2 separate regions of the Homo sapiens genome follow, and region 1 is linked to region 2. Evidence: promoter capture Hi-C in human tissues and cell types (Jung and others, 2019). All regions are on one chromosome and are shown on one strand. Each heading gives the region's core, a stretch centred on a gene start or on the middle of the fragment in contact. The rest is flanking DNA. Distances are from core to core; before and after follow the strand shown.

Region 1 (4,562 bases), core at 716-3,215, 1.3 Mb before region 2:
TAATTTTCACTTCTCAAACTTGGTAGGTTTATTTTGGGAGTGGCCTTGAACCTATTTTGCAACTACTCCTTAGTAATTAAAATGAACTTCTCCTGAGTTGAAATGCAAGATGCAGTTAATGCTTCCAAAGTCTCTTCTGCAGGACTGGATCAATGAATAAAAACTGACACTAAAACATAAGTAGCAATTATTCAATAATTAATACTAATGAATTACTAAATCTCTACATCTTAAAAGTTTGAATACCAGTGTATTTAGAATTTGTTTGGCTTCCAAAAACTATGCATGCCATGGTGTTTTATTTTAAAACTTCAAATCCTAACACTATATACCTTTTTTAAAGTGTTAATTTCTCATTTCTTTTTCTTTTTTTTCTTTTTTCTGAGACGGAGTCTTGCTCTGTCACCCAGGCTGGAGTGCAGTGGTGCGATCTCAGCTCACTGCTCCTGGGTTCACGCCATTCTCCTGTCTCAGCCTCCTGAGTAGCTGGGACTACAGGCACCCGCCACCACACCTGGCTAATTTTTTTTTGTATTTTTAGTTAGAGATGGGGTTTCACCGTGTTAGCCAGGATGGTCTCAATCTCCCGACCTCGTGATCCTCCCGCCTCGGCCTCCCAAAGTGCTGGGATTACAGGCGTGAGCCACCGCGCCAGGCAGTTAATTTCTAAGTGTGGCTATATCTTCATAAAATCTCTCTCTATGGCCATTAAAATGGATTATGCCATAGATGAAATGGTCCTTAACATTCCATGGACAAAGACCCCTACAGCTTGATTTTGCTGAGATAATCTTCATAGTTAATTAAGGACCACAGAAGACTACCATGAGCAGCTGAGGTCAGACAGGGACTGTAGAAACACAGGCTAAAGGACACGAAGAATTGTGTAATTGACTAAATGTTCAGGGCACAGCCAACAAAACTCAATTGTTCTGGACAACCACACCATTTTCTCTAGAGTTGCTGAAAGTTGTGTGGGTGGGATCTACAGATAATTGCCCCACTTCTCCATTTCATTTTGCCTGTCTAAACATTGTATAAATAACTACTTGATAAATTCAATGTTGATGTTGGCACATGAACAGACAGACAGAAAAGTGACTGCTCATTTTAAAATGTATAAAGCCAATATAAATAGTAAACAAATCTCAAAGGAGAATGCCTAAAAATGTTTAAAATTCACAATAATGTTTAATTTACCAAATTTCAACCCACTTATGGAGCTTAATTCAAAAATACTTTTGGCTTATATTTAAAATAAAGTGACATTTGACAAACTGTTCAAATATTAAGCTTAAAAATGTACTCTTCCTAAATAATAATTTTAATACAAACTCTAGATCCACAACTTGCAGGATTAACTATCTCTTCCCCAATATGCCAAAAACACGTACACATCCAAATATGCATAGAGAATATGAATGCTAGAAAAGTTTAAGAATATATCATGAAAATATATTTCATATGTCAGGATAAATAAGCTTGAGTAGTTAATGAAAAATAATTATTTTAAAGTTTAAGTTGTCTTTAAAATTAAATTTTACATATATTTTCAAGATATATGAGAAGACATACACCACCTACCTCACTATGGAATGTGGTAAAACAAACATAATTTATATCTGTGTCATGGCAGCCAAATGGCATAAATTCTTTAGATGTTGAACTTTGCTAAAATAGCAACAGCAAATTTCATGAACAAAGTGAAGTGGAAGAGAAAAGAGAAGAACAATCCAATACAAAAACTGTCTAATTCTTTCTGGTTGCCTTATAGCCTAAAAGAAAATTTTAAACTCTCCTTAAGCCATAACTGCAAAAAATTTAAAAAGAAAATCCATCTGTTAAAACAAATTACGCAAATGGTATTGAGGCTACTTGAATTTATGTCACAGTGCCCTTAGTATTAACCACACCAACTGTGGGCCACACACGTTTGACTAAATGTGCTTAGTGGTTGATTCCAGAAATGTCATAATTCAAGAAATGTACAAGGAAAAAAACTAGTGGAAAAGCAAAAGTAACAAGTGGAATATTTTACAAAATTGAAAATAATACCACACAGGTCAAAAAAAAAACATCCAATTAACATATATAATTTCAGTTTTGTGCTATATTCCAATGGTTCTTTTCAGTCTTCTAATTTACATTGCTTTTTATATATTTCATTAATATATAGGCATATGTTGGAGAAATTGCAACTTTGTTTTCAGACCCAGGCAATCAAGTCACATGAATTTGTTTCCCAGCAGATGTACATGTTATGTTTAGAATATACTATAGTCTGTTAAGTTTGCAATAGCATTGTGTTAAAAAATATAGATACCTTAATTTCAAAAATACTTTACTGCCAAAAAATGCTAATAATCATCTGAGCCTTTAGCCAGTACTAATTATTTGCTGGTAGAGGGTCTCATCTCAATGTATTTGGCTGCTGACATCAAGGTGGTGGTTGCTGAAGGTTGTGGCAATTTCTTAAAATAGGACAAAAATGAAGTTTGCCACATTTGTTGACTCTTTCTTTCACAAAAGATTTATCTGCAGCATGTGATGTCATGTGATGGCATTTTACCCACAACAGGACTTTCAAAATTGAGGTCAATCCTTTCCAACCCTGCCGATGCTTTATCACCTGAATTTATGCAATATTCTAAATCCTTTGTTGTCATTTCAACAATGTTTACAGTGTCTTCACCAGGGGTAGATTCCATCTCGAGAAACCACTTTCTTTGCTTGTCCGTGAGAAGCAACTCCTCATCCTTTCAAGTTCTATCATGAGACTGCAGAAATTCAGTCATCTCTTCAGGTTCCACTTCTAATTCTAGTTCTCTTGCTATTTCTACCTCATCTTCAGTGACTTTCTCCACTGAAGTCTTGAACCCCTCAAATTCATCCGTGAGGGTTGGAATCCACTTCTTCCAAACTCCAGTTAGTGTTGGCATTTTGACCTCCATCCATGGATCACATATATTCTTAACGGCATCCAGAATAGTAAAACATTTCCAGACAGTTTTCAACTTATTTTGCCTAGACCCATAAGAGGAATCAGTATCTATGGCAGCCATAGCCTTACAAAATGTATTTCTTAAATAATAAAACTTGAACATTGAAATTACTCCCTGATCTGTGGGCTGTAGAATGGATATTGGATTAGCAAGTAGGAAAACATTAATCTCTTTGTACATTTACATCAGAGTTCCTGAGTGACTAGGTGCATTGTCAATGAAAGAAATCTTTTGAAAGGAATCTTTTTTCTGAGAAGCAGGTCTCAACAATGAGCTTAAAATATTCAGGAAACCATGCTATAAATAGATGTGCTGTTATCCAAGCTTTGTTGTTCCGTTTATAGAGCACAGGCAGAGGAGATAAGTCTTAAGGGCCCTAGCATTTTCAGAATGGTTAATAAGCATTGGCTTCACCTTCAAGTCACCAGCTGCATAAGCCTCTAAAAAGAGAGTCGGCCTGTCTTTTGAAATTTTGAAACTACACATTGACTTCTCATGTCTAGTTAGGAAAGTCCGAGGTCGTCTTTTCTTCTAATAGAAAGCTGTTTTGTGTACATTGAGAATCTGTTGTTTAGTGTTACCACCTTCATCAATGATCTTTGCTACATTTTCTGGATAACTTACTGCTTCACCTTGTACTTTTATGTTATGGAGACAACTTCTGCTCTTAAACTTCATGAACCAACCTCTGCTAACTTCCAACTTTTCTACTGCCACTTTCTCACCTCTCTCAGACTTCAAAGAACTGAAGAGAATTAGAGCTTGGCTTTGGATTAGGCTTTGGCTTAAGGGAATGTTGTGCCTGGTTTGATCTTTTATCCAGACATAAAACTTAATATCAGCCACAAGGCTGTTTTGCTTTCTTATGATTTGTGTGTTCACTAGAGTGTACTTTTAATTTCCTTCAGGAACTTTTCCTTGTATTCACAACTTAGCTAACTGGCACAAGAGGCCTAGATTTTAGCCTATTTCAGCTTTCAACATGCCTTCCTCACTAAGCTTAATCATTTCTAGTTTCTAATAAATGAGAGATGTGTGATTTTTTCCTTTCACTTGGACACTTAGAGGCCATTGTAGGGTTTGTAAGTGGGCTAATTTCATCATTTTTGTGTCTCAGGGAATAGGGAGGCCTGAGGAGAGGGAGAGAGATAGGAGAACTGCAGGTCAGTGGAACAGTCAAAACGCAACACATACCGATTAAGTTCAGTGTCTTACATTTGTGGCACCAGAAAACAATCACTGATCACAGATCACCGATCACAAATCACCATAACAATTATAATAATAAAGAAAAAGTCTGAAATATTGTAAGAATTATCAAAATGCGACAAACAGACATGAAATGGGCACAATCTGGGAAAACAGTATCAATAGATTTGCTCAAGGCAGAGTTGTCACAACCTTCAATTTGTAGAAAACACAGTATCAGCAAAGCACAATAAAACAACATATGCCTATAATTCACATACCATTCAATTAATCCATTCAAAGTGTACAATTCAATGACTTTTAGTTGAATTATGCAACCATCATTACAATCAATTTTAGTATATTTTCATC
Region 2 (4,038 bases), core at 521-3,020:
TGTTCATTATACAACATATACATGTATCAGAACATGAAATTGTACCCTATAAATATGTATAATTACAATGTGTCAACTAAAAATGAAAAAATAATTGAACTATCACCTTATTCACCTTCACCACACATTGGTCATATTTCTGACCAATCTAGATTGTTATGGTCATAGGTGATGATGCCTGTGTGACCCTGCAAAATTAACACTAGATATTCTCATGAAAAACAAAGCGTTTGCTTCATATGACCTTATTCTATTTGCAGAAGTAATATTCTCTTCTACTCCCACTTAGGAAATATCAAGTACTGGAAAAGGCAAAATATCTCTTCTTTACAAAAGTTAACCAAGAAGAGAATTGCATGCTACTGCATGGAACAGATCCTTCCTCCCTTCTGAGACCGACAAGAAAATCGCATAAAGGAGTACTAGTTAAGGTGTGGTCCATAGACGAGAGACTATCTGTGAACTGTTTGTGATCAGTAAATAAGAGAAATTGATGGGTGAAGCATGTGGGTGGGCTCCTGTAATCACAGCTAGGAGAGAGGATTGCTTGCGTTAGAGTCCATCCTGGTCAATAACGAGATACTCTCTCTAAAAACAAAACAAAACGAAACGAAAACTCAGCAGGCCACCAACTAGGATACTCCCTAGGTCAAATGACCGAGCCTCTAATTCTGTGATTGTTGTTGCTGTGCGCACGTTAATAAAACAAACAAACAAACAAAAAGTGAAGATGTTTAGAAAGTTTACAGTACTTTGGCATTGTCCTGATAATCCAAGCTCCTGATCAGCAGATTCTATTCAGCCAGGTATAGGGCAGTTCGAGTGTTGTCAAATTTGTGATTCCCATGAGGCCAGGCTGCTTACTGGTAATGCATAAAGGACCACATCCTGGTTCGCGAAGAGTTTGGGGGTAGAGGAAAAGGAGGGAGAAACTGATCCTTCATCACAGGTAGTTTGAGAGCACTGATGTAAACTATAGTCACACTTTTGTAGTATAATTGATTATTATCCTCAATAGATCATTTACACTAAGTCGGAAAAAAGTGGAAACATCAGATATGTGGGATATGCGTCACCTTGTACATTTCTCAGCTGGAAAAGTGTAAAACATCTCAATTTTGCACCTCCCTTTTCAAACATGTCTTTGGCTAAATCAATGTTGGCTCTAACCGCTCGTCCTAGAGCGAGTCCCGCCATCTTGTGGTTGAAGATGTTGACTGCCACAGAGAATAGCGGGCTTTGACATCAACAGTTCTGATTGGGTAAAAAGACCCTCGTCTTGGGGTAGTTCTCTTTTGAAGTCCTAGAGTCCGTCACACACAAACGCCTTCTTCCCGGTAAGTCCATTGTAAACAACGGAATGGACTTTAGGGAAAGGAAAGGAAAACGTGTTCTTTAAGACTCTTTAAATAGCGTTTTCACCCATTAGCAGAATTCTCTGATTCATGAGCAGCACTAAGTAGATACCGTGTGCGTGCATTTTGAATGAATTCATTTCTACACTATTTTATAGGAGTATTGAATAGTTGGGAATTGGAACCCCTCCAGGGGGAACCAAACATTGTCGTTCAGAAGAAGACAAAGAGAGATTGAAATGAAGCTGTTGATTTCAACACACAAATTCTGGTGGTAGATGAAAGCAAAGCAAGTAAGTTTCTCCGAATCCCTAGTCAACTGGAGGTAGAGACGGACTGCGCAGGTTAACTACAGCTCCCAGCATGCCTGAGGGGCGGGCTCAGCGGCTGCGCAGACTGGCGCGCGCGGACGGTCATGGGACTTCAGCATGGCGGTGTTTGCAGATTTGGACCTGCGAGCGGGTTCTGACCTGAAGGCTCTGCGCGGACTTGTGGAGACAGCCGCTCACCGTGAGTTGCCCCGGCTTCGCGCCTGGCCAACCTCATGCCACCCAGACCATCGGGCCACACTCCGGAGTAACTATTTCCTGATGGGTCTCGGTCAGGTCTCCCAGAGTCTCTGGGATGTCCCTGGAGGCTGATGCCCGCCGAGGTGTTGGTCTGATTCCTAGCGCGGGAAACTCGAAGGTTCTGGGGGTTGTTATCTGGTTCAGCTACTTTCCTGCAATGAGGGAACTGAGGCCTAACGAGGGCGAGGGATTTGCATAGGGGCCTACAGCTGATAGGTGACAGAAGCCGGAGCTGGACTCCAAGGGTACAATCTTCTAAGCTTCTAAGTTACTATCAGCCCTTCCTGATTCTCACGACAGTGTCTAAACAAATACTGGAATTTGGGGCACGGACAGGAAGCGCCGTGGAGGCTCGGAGAAGGAGGAGGACGTGGGAGTGTTGGAACAATACTATCTAGACAGAGAGAGGGTAGGTGGGGGCAGAGGACATACACAGCGGAGTGGAGGTGGAGGAGGAGGATAGCATGGCCCAAATCGAAGGGAAGCGAAAGCCTTGAGAGACGAGAACCTGTTTTAACTATTGGAGTTAGTCATGGGTTCTGTATTCCGTAGACTGTAAAGTGTTGGAATAGAGAGATTAAAAAGAATCAAGAGGTTCGTGTAGTAACATCTGCTCCTCAGAGACAGTTTTCAGCTCATTGTGAGTTCTGATTACTGATACTGTTCAGAGGTGGTGCTAGAAATGACAACCACTTCTTGGCAAAGTGAATCACACCACTTTTTTATTGTTCTCTTTATGAAGTATCCGTGGCGAAATGACTGTCCCTTTCCACTGCTGCCACTAAATGAACGTTATCTCTGTGGTACTTTGCTCATCAGCACGAAGACGAAAGTAGACATGATGATCTGGGCCATTTGGCGCTAATGTTCTTTGATCCTGTAAAATAAGTTTTCCTAGGTGTAGTTTGTCGCAATTATTACCTCCTCAATGAGGCTTTTCCTGACGCCATCCCATTTTTGAATAAATCATGAGCTTCCTAAGAGAATTGCCATGTCTTATCCTTTTATTTACTGTGCTTAACACGTTCACTCTGCAGGCACCAGTACATGGCAGTTACTCAGTTAATGCTTGTGGAATAAACTGAACACATTAAAAAAATTAATACAAAAAAGAAAAGTTAATAATGATTTCTTTAGAGAATTTCCCCCAGTTTAAAATACACTTGGAAGAGGTGTGGTAATATATGTACATTGTTAGTGGTTATTTGTTTGTAAATTAAATGGAATTCATGGCATATAAAGTTGCCTCAACTTACAAGTCAAAGACAAAGGACTGCTCTGCTATTTGATGAGTCTGGAACTAAATAGTGGACATTTGCAAAGAATAGGAAAGACAGAGCCCTGGTTCTCAGTTTCTGATGTGATACAAGAAACCAATAATAAGCTTCAGAAATATACTGTGTAAATTAAAATACCCTAAAGCCTGATTGGGGAAGTAAGTACTCCTAAGCTGCCAGATGAGGAGTAGTCTAGGAAAAAGTTTTGTGGAGAAACAGATCCTAGTTGACATTTCTGTAGAACGGTAGGGACATTGTTTAGTAGCCAAAAGGATATCCTAAATGGGTATAACAAGGAAGTTTAGAGCAGATTTGGGAGTGTGGTAAAGAAGAATAGGGAGGAGGTGTGGCTGGTTGATTTGACTAACTGGGTGCAAGGTGAAGCCCAAGGTACAGGCATACTTGTGATTTTTTTTTTGTTTTTAAGGGTAACTTTCTTCAGGGAGCCTTTTGTGACCCCTACACCAGGTTTCACTGTGCTATGTACTTCCATAGAATCCTTACTTATAAAAAACATGTATTTATATACAATGACTTGCTTAATTGCCTTATTTGCCTTCGTTCTCCAACAGACTAGGCTGTAAATTTCTTGTGGAGAAGGATTATATTATTTATCCTGTATGCTCAACACCAGTTTAGGGCTTGTCAAGTAATGGATGCTCAGTAAATATTTGAGGGAGGAAGGGAAGAAGGAAGTTGGACAAACTGTTGAGAGTTTGGCATTGATATGTATTTTAATGTTAATATCCTTTCATCCCCATTGGTATTTTTAAAAATTAAAGATGGGAGTCATGATTTAGATTTTTTTTTGGTAGCCCAAATGTCCAGAACAGTGCT

What was found. The method cuts DNA at HindIII sites, captures the fragments that hold promoters and counts their contacts. A contact is called where the count stands out against the background at its distance.
Region 1: a fragment that was not itself captured here is called in contact with the fragment with the promoter of RPP30 in region 2 in 1 of the 25 tissues and cell types used here (mesenchymal stem cells).

The regions. Positions count from the first base shown.
Region 1 is chr10:89,573,610-89,578,171 of GRCh38, forward strand. No RefSeq gene overlaps it. Among named protein-coding and RNA genes, the nearest start is that of MIR107, 17 kb to the right of the region's middle. The HindIII fragment of the contact is 3,395 bases long and covers 269-3,663 here.
Region 2 is chr10:90,870,204-90,874,241 of GRCh38, forward strand. RPP30 (ribonuclease P/MRP subunit p30) reads left to right here and starts at 1,771. Exons shown (of 11, transcript NM_006413.5): 1 at 1,771-1,865. The coding sequence starts at 1,784. RefSeq lists enhancers at 1,609-1,903, 1,622-1,891, 2,022-2,081. The HindIII fragment of the contact is 15,308 bases long and covers 1-2,746 here.